Linked DNA regions of Homo sapiens: region 2 is linked to region 1. Evidence: promoter capture Hi-C in 16 types of primary human blood cells and fetal thymus (Javierre and others, 2016). All regions are on one chromosome and are shown on one strand. The core of a region is centred on a gene start or on the middle of the fragment in contact, and the rest is flanking DNA. Distances in the headings are between cores, read along the strand shown.

Region 1 (5,299 bases), core at 1,755-4,254:
CCAGGCTGATCTCAAACTCCTGGACTCAAGTGATCCTCCCACCACCTCAGCCTCCCAAAGTGCCGGCATTACAGGCTTGAGCCATTGCACCTGGCCCATATATTTATGTATATGTTGGGATCTATGCTGTATGCACAGATTGCATAATGGCTTTTTTTCTTAACATTATGTGATAAGCATTTTCCTGAATAAACTTATTTTAAAATATTTTAATGCCTATGATACATTTCATTGTTTAAATATAACTTACTGTGTTTAATCACTTCTCTTTCAGACATTTAATAGCTGTTTCTTTTCCTTTTTGCTTGATAAATAGTACTGCAATCAACAACTTTGTTGGCATATGATTATTTTCTTAGAATAGATTCTGAAAGTGAACTTACTGGCTTAAAGACTTTGAACATTTTAAAGGCTCTTGATATATATTGTCAAAAAACTTTGTACCCATTTATAATCCCACAGCTAGGGTTTAAGAGTTAGTTTCACTCAACTCCCCAAACATGGATGCCAACTTCTAAAGAACTGATGCCAATTTAATAGTTGGAAATGATAACTTATGTTGTATTTGGCATTTCTTCTAAAGTCTTTTTTTCTGATTATAAAGTAATATAAGCTAATTGTAGAAAGCCTAGAAAATATGGAAGATTAGAAAAATAGTCATTTTTCATTTGTATATAAATATAACAACAGTTTTATGATTATTCCTTTGTCTTCTTCCTGTGTATATATTAAAATACATACCTAATATTTATAATATTGAGGTCATATGGCTGATACTTTCATCTAAATTTTATTTAATAGTATACATTGTGACAACTTTCCTGAGTTATCAAATATTCTCCAGAGCACTGAATCTGCTGTAAAATATTTAGCCTTCCTTGCTTATTGGGCATTGTATCAATCGATTATACAATTGATCAATACATAGCATTGCCATACATATCATTGTTCAAAGCCTCCAAATGCACTTCTGATGATTTCAACAGAATTTATGACTGACGCAGAATAAATTGGAATCATGGGTTTAAATGATATGGATATTTTAAAGTTTCTTGATAAAAATTGTTAAATTTTTCCTTCCCTGATAATTTACTCTCTATAAAGTCCAGAAGCATAACTTAATTGCCCCCCCCACCAAGTTACTCTCACGAATTATTTTATTTGAGAAATTTGGTCACTTGTGGCTCTCAGTGATAAATATGTTGAGAAGTTTCCCATATGTATAGATGATAATAGTAACTCATATTTACAAAGTTTATAATTTACATTTACCATGTATGTTTACATTTTAATTACAATGATCTTAGGAATGTGGAGGTTGGGGGCTATAGGAGAGCAGCCAGTGGGGAATAAAGTCAAGATTCAGACCAGGTCTTCAATTCCTAAATCTTGTAGTTTTAATTAAATCACATTACCAATGTACCTAGTTCCAGCATATAAAGTGACTCCAGAGGCGTTAAGAAAGTTCTGGAATAATGTTAAGGGAGTCAATAGCAAACGTACATACTGTATTTTTAGAATGAGACTGATTTACACTTGGGGGCTTTTAATTGCAGTCGTCCATCAGTTTTAAATTTTCAGTGTCTAAATATAAAAACGCAGCAATATAAAAAAAAGCCAGCTGTTTTCTTACTCAGAGCATGAATTGATGAGTTTATGAATGAGTGAAGTGACAGCAAGACTAAGAATAGTCTAGCCCTTTTCAATCACCTAAGCCATCTATCAATACCTTGGAGAGCTTCCAATTTCAGGTCACCTCCCCCGACCCCCCTCCACCCCACAACATTCTCGGAAAAAGCAAATTTTCAACTGACAAAGGAAAATGGATACATTAATATCTTCCATGTTTTTCAAAACATTTCGTTTATTTTGCTACTTGAAAACGGTCTTCCCTTTTGCCCCATGTAAAATAAAATTGCTCATGATCTATGGTCCCGTGAGAGCTTATTTAAGGAGCACTGACGGATTCTATTTTCCTTATTAATGTGGCATATTTGCCACGTGTGCAAATGAAAACATCCCTTTCCAATGAGTGCCTAGGAGGAAATCAGCTCTTCCTTCCTCGAAGAGTTTTAATTCATGGGTATGATCTATTTCTTTCTTTCTTTATTTTGTTTTATATATTTTTTAGAGACAGAGTCTCGGTTTTTTGTCCAGGCTGGGGTGCAGTGGCATGATCTCGGCTCACTGCAACCTGTGCCTCCCGGGTTCAAGCGATTCTTCTGCCTCAGCCTCCTGAGTAGCTGGGATTACAGTCATGTGCCACCACCCCCGGCTAATCTTTGTATTTTTAGTAGAGAATGGGTTTCGCCATCTTGGCCTGGCGGGTCTCGAACTCCTGACCTCAGGTGATCCACCCGCCTCAGCCTCCCAAAGTGCTAGGATTACAGGCGTGAGCCACCTCGCCCAGCCGGTAGGATCTATTTCTGAAGACAATGTGGAAGCAGAGTGTGGGCCCTCCACAGGTGTAGCGAGGCGGCGTGCTACCGCGAAGAAGGAGGGAAGACGCCTGAGCCCAGCCGGTGCCCTGCTGCCCCTCTGCCTCTTCGGCCACTGGGGCTGAGCTTCAGCCTTACCAATCCCCGCCGCGCACGCGCGCTCGCTTCCCGCGCGCAACCTCCCACCCCCGCCCTCACTGCACCTGCCAGGTCATAAACCTCTTCCCACCCACTCTCACTCTCTACCCAAGGCTCAGGCTTGTCTCACGTTGATTGGCCAGAGCCCACGAGGGCACGTCCAATCAGCAATCCCCCCTGCGCAACCTATCCCGGTTCTTCCCGCCCCCGCCCCGCCCCGCCCGCCCCCCCGGGTACCTACCGTCTCTGTGACTGGTGCGCGGCCAGGTCACTCAGGGCGGCGGGGCGAGGTGTGCGGGAGTGGGCAGGACGGGTGGGAGGAGGGGAGGGGTGGGAGAAGGCGGGGCTCAGGTGCCTGGCAGCGCGGCCGGGGCCCAGGAAGGGGAGGGGGCGAACGCTGGAGCGAGGCGGGGGCGGGTGAGGAGGGGGTGACGCCGGACGCGTCGACAGCGCGAGGGTTCGCGCGTGAGCTGCGCGGGTCGGGCCTGGTACCGAGCTTTCCTGGGGGCTAGCAGGTCGTGGACGCCGGCTCCTGGAGGAGAGCCGGTAGGAGGGAGTGTGAAGGTGTCCGCGGCGTCGTCGACGGCGGCGCCGGCCATGGAGGAGACGCAGCCGCCGCCGCAGCCTAAGCTGCCCCTGTGCGACAGCCTCATGATCTGGGTGAGTGCGAGGAGGCGAGAGGGCGAGGGGGCCAGGGGGCCGAGGCGAGGAGCCTGGGGCGCCCGGTTCTCCCAGGTGAGCTGGGGCTACCTGCACAGGGTCCCGGCGCACCCTGCCCTTCTCACCTCGTGCCCTTGACCGAGAGAATGCCACCTGCGGGTCGACGGGCAGGTGTGTGGGCGCGGGTTGGTGTCCGGGGGTGGGGGTAAAGGAAGCTCTGGGAGCGTAACAGTGGAGGCTCTGGTCTCAACCAGAGGATTCGACCTGCCTGGTGCCCTAACAGCTGGGATATGAACCAAGCACCCATCCTCTTTTCTCCCCGCTGCCCCATTTTCTCCCCCTGAACAGCGCCCGAGCCCTCCACTTTCTGGATCGCCGACTCTCTTGCCTTGGTCCGCTTGGGCGTGAAGACCCTTTCCGAAACCTAACCCTGCATCCTCAAACTACCTTGCTCTACCTGGACACAGGTGGCCAGGAGGTGGCTGGCTGTTTTAGTTCCCGGACCAATGCTCCTTCAGGACTCTAGAACATCCGATTTTGTAGAAGCCGCTTCAAAGAGATGTTTGTATTTCCCGTATGGAGAAAAAGATGTGTTGGGAGTCGGGGGTCGTTTTCCCTTTTTCTCGCTGGCCCTCTCCTCCTCTAAATGGACAGCATTTTCTTTAAAGAAAATGAGTTGACATTTTTCTTTAGGATTTATCTGTGTTTAGGATTTTTGTTAATTTGTGTTGGGTCTGGACAGGCATATCTGTCCCCAGATTGTTCAATATTCCAGTCAGCAAAATGACATCCCACCTCTTAGAGTTACTTAGATATCAGTGCTGGCATTCAGGTGTGGTTCTTAACCCATATTGAGTAAAGATGGTGTTTGATGAGCCACAAGGTGCTGTTGATGATGCTCATCCCAAACCAGTTGTTTAGTTGCGTCTAGGGGAGTGTGTGCAGATGGAATGTAAACAGACGGGATCAGGAGGCTGTAATCGGTTGAGATTCCCTAGTGATCTAATGCATCTAATTCCAAAGAATGAGAAATCTAGGTTTATGGAAATGTGTGAAGCCTATTGGAAATAGCCATAATTTAAAGCATTTACACTTTGTAAGTAAATAACTTTTGCTTTTAGTGGAATGCAAATATTTAGGGTTTGTGAGTTAAAAGCAATTAGCTAACTGTTCAGCTGAATTTTCATTTGAAATAGGTATTGGGGTGGAAGTGCTGTATTTAAGACTGTCGTAGAAACAAGGCAACATTACTTTTAATGATTTGTTTTGTTAAAACAGACTAATTAAAGGGTGTATCCGAATCTGCTACATTATTGTAAACCTCAATTGACTGAAGTGTTAAGCTTAGTCTTTATGATGTCATTGATTTACATGTGAGGTGGTGGAGAAGCACAGGATTTTCTTTTGTGTTGTAATATTTTAAAATATTATGTGACTGTATCCACTCTTTTAACCAGAATTTATTGACTTCCAATGTTGAGCTAGGCACTGGGGAGGACTGGAGTGGTAGCCAGAGCTGTGTGTAATTACAGTGGAAGGTAAAATTCCGTAAAAGCTGCAAATATGTTGTAAACCAAATGATAAGGAATCACAGATAACAGAGTAAAATTGGTCGTTTTCTTCAGTCCTCTCTTGGGCTGCTGAGCACTGTGGAGAAAATTGAATGACCGTGCAAACTGTTGCCTCTACTAATGCTGTTACTGTCAAACGCACCTTTTCTCCTAACATTGCCCATACTTAAGAATAACCAGACAGTTTCTCTCACATTCCTCTTAGCAAACCTTTATCAGTATTCTACCTGAGCCCCCAACTCTTATTCCTCTGGGGCAAATGACCACCTCCTTATCCTTGGCTCTGGCTTTAGACTCCATCCCTTCCACCTCTTTTAAAACGTTATTGTATCATTTGTTCCCTTTCTGTATTTACAACTACTTTCTCTCCATTGGCTCCTTTCTCTGTATGTATAAACTTGCTGAAGTATTCCCCTTTTTTAACAGAGAACAAAGAGCCACTATTCCGTGTTAAAGTCATACTGTATTTCCCCTTTCCTTCACAGTAAAATT
Region 2 (5,170 bases), core at 378-2,877, 990 kb before region 1:
AAACTATTATGATTAGAGACAGGGATATGGAGAGAACAAAGACAGTATACTCAGCTGACATTTATTGAGCACCTACTATGTGACAGTTGCTTTCAAATCCATTATTTCAAATAAACCTCAAAATAAGGCTATGAGGAAAAGATCATATTATAGAAGAGGAAACTGACACTCCAAGACGCTTGTTAACTTGCCGAGAAAGTGAGTGGCAAAGTCTGAGTTGGAAGAAGTTGGGTCTGACTTCAAGTTCAGTATCTGATTCGCTGCACCTCTCTGCTTTTTCCCTGTATGCCCAAATGTCAGTCATTTTAGAGCTGGAGGTGAGGATCAGAGGGGACTTTAAGATCGCCTCACCCAGAGTTTCTCTGCCTCTTTTATAATCCAAGTCACCCTAGATAAACACAAAAACCTTACATCCTCTTTTAATGAGTTTCAAATTCAAAATAAGCAAAATATCATGATTCAAAACAAATCAAAGCAAGGGGACATTTTCAGTATTTTGTTTTGAAACAAAACAAGTCTTTCCAGCACTTTTGTTTCCAGCTCCGTGCCTCCACCAACCTCACTGGAGAGCTGGTGATCCTTTGCCCCCCTCCTCCTAGTCATTGACTTCCAAGGAAGTTGAGCTCAGAGCGGACTGACTGACTAGCTTGTGACATGGTCAGCTCTTGAACTCAGGTCTGCCTGACTCCAGTGTGGTATCTTTTCTGTAAACACCCTGCTTACTTCATAGCCTGGTCTCTTACTGAACCCCAGCTCACAGTCCACACTTCGGACTGACTTTATCACCTCTAGTTTCCAGAATGTGTCCTCCTCCTTCCTGGCCGTTGCTCAGGCTTTTCCTCTCCGTGGAACACCCTCACTACCGCTCCTCCCCGCTTGTCTGGGGAGCCCCTGTTCCCCAAGCTTCAGCTGAAATGCAGCTTACTTTAGGAGCTTTTCTGGACTCCTGCCTATATCCAAATGAAGGGGACTGATTCCTTTTGTACACGTGCCCATGTACCCATGTAGAATTATCTTTTGGCATTTGCTAACACTTTAATATTCTTTACACGTCTCTTCCTTTTTTTTCTTCCTTTTTTTTTTTTAATTTGAGACAGAGTTTCACTCTTGTCACCCAGGCTGGAGTGCAGTGGCATGATCTTGGCTCACTGCAACCTCTGCCTCCCCGATTCTAGCGATTCTCCTGCCTCACCCTCCTAAGTAGCTGGGATTACAGGCATGCGCCACCATGCCCAGCTAATTTTGTATTTTTAGTAGAGAAGGGGTTTCACCATGTTGGCCAGGCTGGTCTCGAACTCCCGACCTCAGATGATCCACCTGCTTTGGCCTCCCAAAATGCTGGAATTACAGGTGTGAGCCACTGCGCCCAACCTAAGTCTCTTTTTCTTAATCGCCTATGACCTCCTTGGATATCTCACTCTACTACTACCAAAATGATGGTGGTTGGGGTGGATCCATATCTTTGTATTCTTTCAAGAGTGCCTGGCATTTAGCAAGCACTCAGTAAATGTTTATGACACACACACACACACACACACACACACACACACACACACACAACGTCATTGTCAGATTATTTTATTTTAGGTGGTCTTGAGTTTTTACTTAGACTGCGAACTCTCACAGACAGCTGTCCTCTGTTGAAGCAACAGGGAGCCACTGCAGGTTTTTGAGGCAGAGAGTTTCTTGATCCATAGGTAACATAAGAGACTTACCCATGGGATTAAAGCTAAAGATCTCCCAGTTTCCAAGCCTTTTCAATCTTTCTCTGGAAAAGTTTTATTTCACAAATAAAAGGCTGAAGAAGAGAAGTGCTATTCTTTCATTTTTTGTTAATTCAAAAAATATATCAAGTGCCTGCCCTCTCCCAGGTGCTATTTTGGGCACCATTTAGATAAGAATGAACTGGGCAGACAAAATATCTCCTCTCTTGGAGTTTGCATTCTCCTGGTGGAGAAAGACAATAAATAAGTAAATAATAACTATATCAGTTCAGATAGTAATAAATATTATGAAGAAAGATATAAAAAGACAGAGTAGGGGATGGGCAGATCATTTTACATGGCGAAGTCAAGAAAGGATCTTTGAGGACGTGGCATTTGGCAGAGCTCTGATGCAGTGAGGAGGGGAGCCAGGAGAAGGTCTGAAGCAAGTGTATTCCAAGCAGGTGAAACAGCAAGTGCAAATGCCCTGAGGTGGGAACAAGTTGGGTACGTGAGAGGAACAGCAAGATGGCTGGAGTGACAGCATGGACAGTGGCTGAGGTAGGCCCTAGGTTGTTTCCCAGGGTGGTTGCTAAGGTCAGACCATAATTTGGTAGATGTGACTAGATCAGCCAGTGCAGCTGGTTCTAAGCTTGAGCCAGCTGTGAATGAATGAATGGAACGTAGACTATCAGCCAGAAGATTAGGCTGAGTACCTTGATCAGACTTTTGTTGCTTTTAGTCAGCAACAAAATGAAGGCTTATGGAGCAAAATATAAGAACAATGTGATCTTTTAAATGAGTTTAAATAATCAAAACAGAACAAAGAGTGATTTCTTGAGTGTAAAACAGGTGGTAAGTTGGTGTTTATTCCTTAAAAAGGAATCTGTCACATCCATCCCAAGGTTGTTTTCACTGAAATGTAAAAGTTACTTTCACTGTAATTTGGGGAATGGTATTAAGACGCCACTTGCGGAGGGCAGCTTCAGCTTGATCCTGCCTGAGGACTCTGGAGTGTGGGTTAAACCTCAGGATTATCCTCGCCCAAGGCTGGAGAGCCACAGCACCTAACAGTCCACCCAAGAAGAGCTGCTGGCACTGGCCACCGAAGGCACATTGGAGCCCCCTACCCCCTAAACAATTAAAAGGAATCCCACTGAAATCTGAGTGGAACAGTGACATTGTCTGATTCGGATAGAATAAAGCAGAATCAAAGAGGATGATCTGGAAGTTCTTTTGCCTCATGATGTTCTCATTCATTACACCATAATGATTATAGGACCCAGGACAGTTAGGGATAGCCAGGAGCTCTAGGCCCCTAGGCACATAGTTACCACCTCTTGGCTTTGCTCTTACTCAGCTTTGAGGGTAGATCACCATGCAGCTTACTCGAAAAGGGCAGGGAAGCAATGTGAAGGCAGAATGACATGAATTCAGATTCTGTCTTCATTTTCAGCTCCGTTGGGAAGTTGTGTGACCTTCAGCATGTTACTTAATGTCTCTGGGCCTCAGGTCTCCTGGAACACTCCATAGTTCCCAGGCCCAGACTTTTCCCACCATACTGCCTTGTCTTTCTACAGTGTTTCTGAAACAATGGAAATGAGAGTTTCTGTTTTTCAGGAACTAATTTGGTGGGACAGTGCATAATTGATATTCTTGCTTTGTAATCATTCAAGCCTTTACTTTGCTTGTTTTATTTCTTACAGGGTTTTGATGTGGAGACCTTGAAATTCATTTGCAGAGGAGCAATTTTACACTTTTATTTAGAACTGGAGGGGAACTTTATAAAAGGATAGGGGAAGGGAGAATAAGCCCAACTTTATTTAAGATGCAGTTATGTTGGGGGCAGAGTTGACTATTTGATCATTCTTTGCCTTTTATTGGTAAAACAGACTAGAGTGTCTAAGAGAGTTAGTTGTGTTTTCATATCAAAATTTGATGGTGGATTAGTGGTGGATCTGAGAGCTATTAGAGGAAGGAAGGGCTCTTAGGGACAAGCCCACTCTCAGGTGGTTGGCAACCCTGCCCAAGTTTGGTGCTGAACGAATAAGTGAATAATTTTTTTCCACATCATATGATAAAGAGGAAAAGTTTGTGCTCATCTTAGGTCATGAGTTCTAGTTCCAGTTCCACCACTTGGGTATGTTCATTACCATCTCCAAATTCCATTTCTTTGTCTTTAATGTGAGGAGGGTTAGACTTGTCGAGCCTACTTCTTTAGGTTGTCTTAAGACTCAGATGCTAATCAAATGTACCTGTATATTACATGTGGTAATTCATGGAGTAAATCTGGTAAAGTCATTCCAGACTCTGCATCTAATTCATAGGATCTCAGGAAAATTGTATAATTTTGCTAAAGCCTCTGTTTTTTCATCTGTAGATGGAGATAGCCCCTGCCTTGCCAAATTCATATGGATGCAATCAGATAATGGATAAGAAAGAATCTTGTAAATTGTAAAGCACCAAAAAAGTATTTTTTATGTTATTATTTTTTAATCTTCCTTATCCTATTGGTCACTAGTATATTCCCTAGTCCCTGAGCAGAACTCATGGTGAACACGTTCACTCCCTTTTCATTAGGGGGCTGCTGTGGCCAGAGCATGGGCTTCTGAGTCAGAGAGGCCTCTGCTCAAATCCCTGTTCTACCAGCTACTAGCTGCTGTGTGACCCCGGCTGAGTCACTTAACCTGTTTGAGCACTATCTGAGAACTCAGAAAAATAAGATCCACCTCAGAGGTGTTTGTAGTAAGACTCAAGTAGGAGAGCATGTGTGTGGTATCCAAAACAGCATCTGCTGTGAGTTCAATCAGTGCTAATTACTTCTCTTGACAACTCTCCTCTCCCCTTGTATCTTTAAGGCTGCAGTAGTTGGGGGTTGGTCTGTTTTATTTCTAAAACCACTCGTCACATGCTAAACTGAATCATGCTGAGTTGCATGAGTTCCTTTCTGCATTAAGCTGTGGACTCCTTAAGGAAAGGATGTGTAGCTTGCAGTTCTAACCCCTGGTACTGAGTAGACATGCTGTTCTAGGGGCTCACAGAGGGGAGGCGGTGAACCACAGGAGAATGAACTTAAACTCTGGGCTACCCAGATCTAGGTTTGAGTTTCTTATGGTAGGACCCTAGACAAATCATCTAATGATACTGAGACTCAGTTTCTTCATCTGACAAATAACCCAACAGAGATGCATGCATAGATGCATACGTTTAGGGATTGTTAGGAAGAGCAGAGATAATGCTTGTAAAATGGCTAGCATGGTACCTGGTGCATACTAGGTCTTAGTGAGCAACTGTTGACTGACTAAAGCCTCCGCCCAGTGTTCCATTCTATCGCTAATAGCATCGTCTTTTCCTGAACAGAAGAAACTGGGAAGTATCCACAGGAGCAAAACACCAAGTGGTGTGAGAAAGAGACATTTGCCCTTGCGAGGGAGAATATTTTATCCCTGACATTATTCAGAATTACC

The links. The method cuts DNA at HindIII sites, captures the fragments that hold promoters and counts their contacts. A CHiCAGO score of 5 or more calls a contact.
Region 2: a fragment that was not itself captured here is called in contact with the fragment with the promoter of HOOK1 in region 1 in 1 of 17 cell types (naive CD4 T cells); the score reaches 5.6 in naive CD4 T cells.

Annotation. Positions count from the first base shown.
Region 1 is chr1:59,811,945-59,817,243 of GRCh38, forward strand. It overlaps HOOK1 (hook microtubule tethering protein 1), which reads left to right and starts at 3,005. Exons shown (of 22, transcript NM_015888.6): 1 at 3,005-3,236. The coding sequence starts at 3,174. LOC105378758 (a long non-coding RNA gene) reads right to left here and starts at 2,922. Exons shown (of 5, transcript XR_947426.3): 1 at 2,818-2,922. RefSeq lists a silencer at 2,473-3,072 and an enhancer at 3,309-3,872. The HindIII fragment of the contact is 6,303 bases long and covers 1-4,577 here.
Region 2 is chr1:58,819,246-58,824,415 of GRCh38, forward strand. The region is part of intron 1 of JUN-DT (JUN divergent transcript); the gene reads left to right. Among named protein-coding and RNA genes, the nearest start is that of JUN-DT, 37 kb to the left of the region's middle. The HindIII fragment of the contact is 1,452 bases long and covers 902-2,353 here.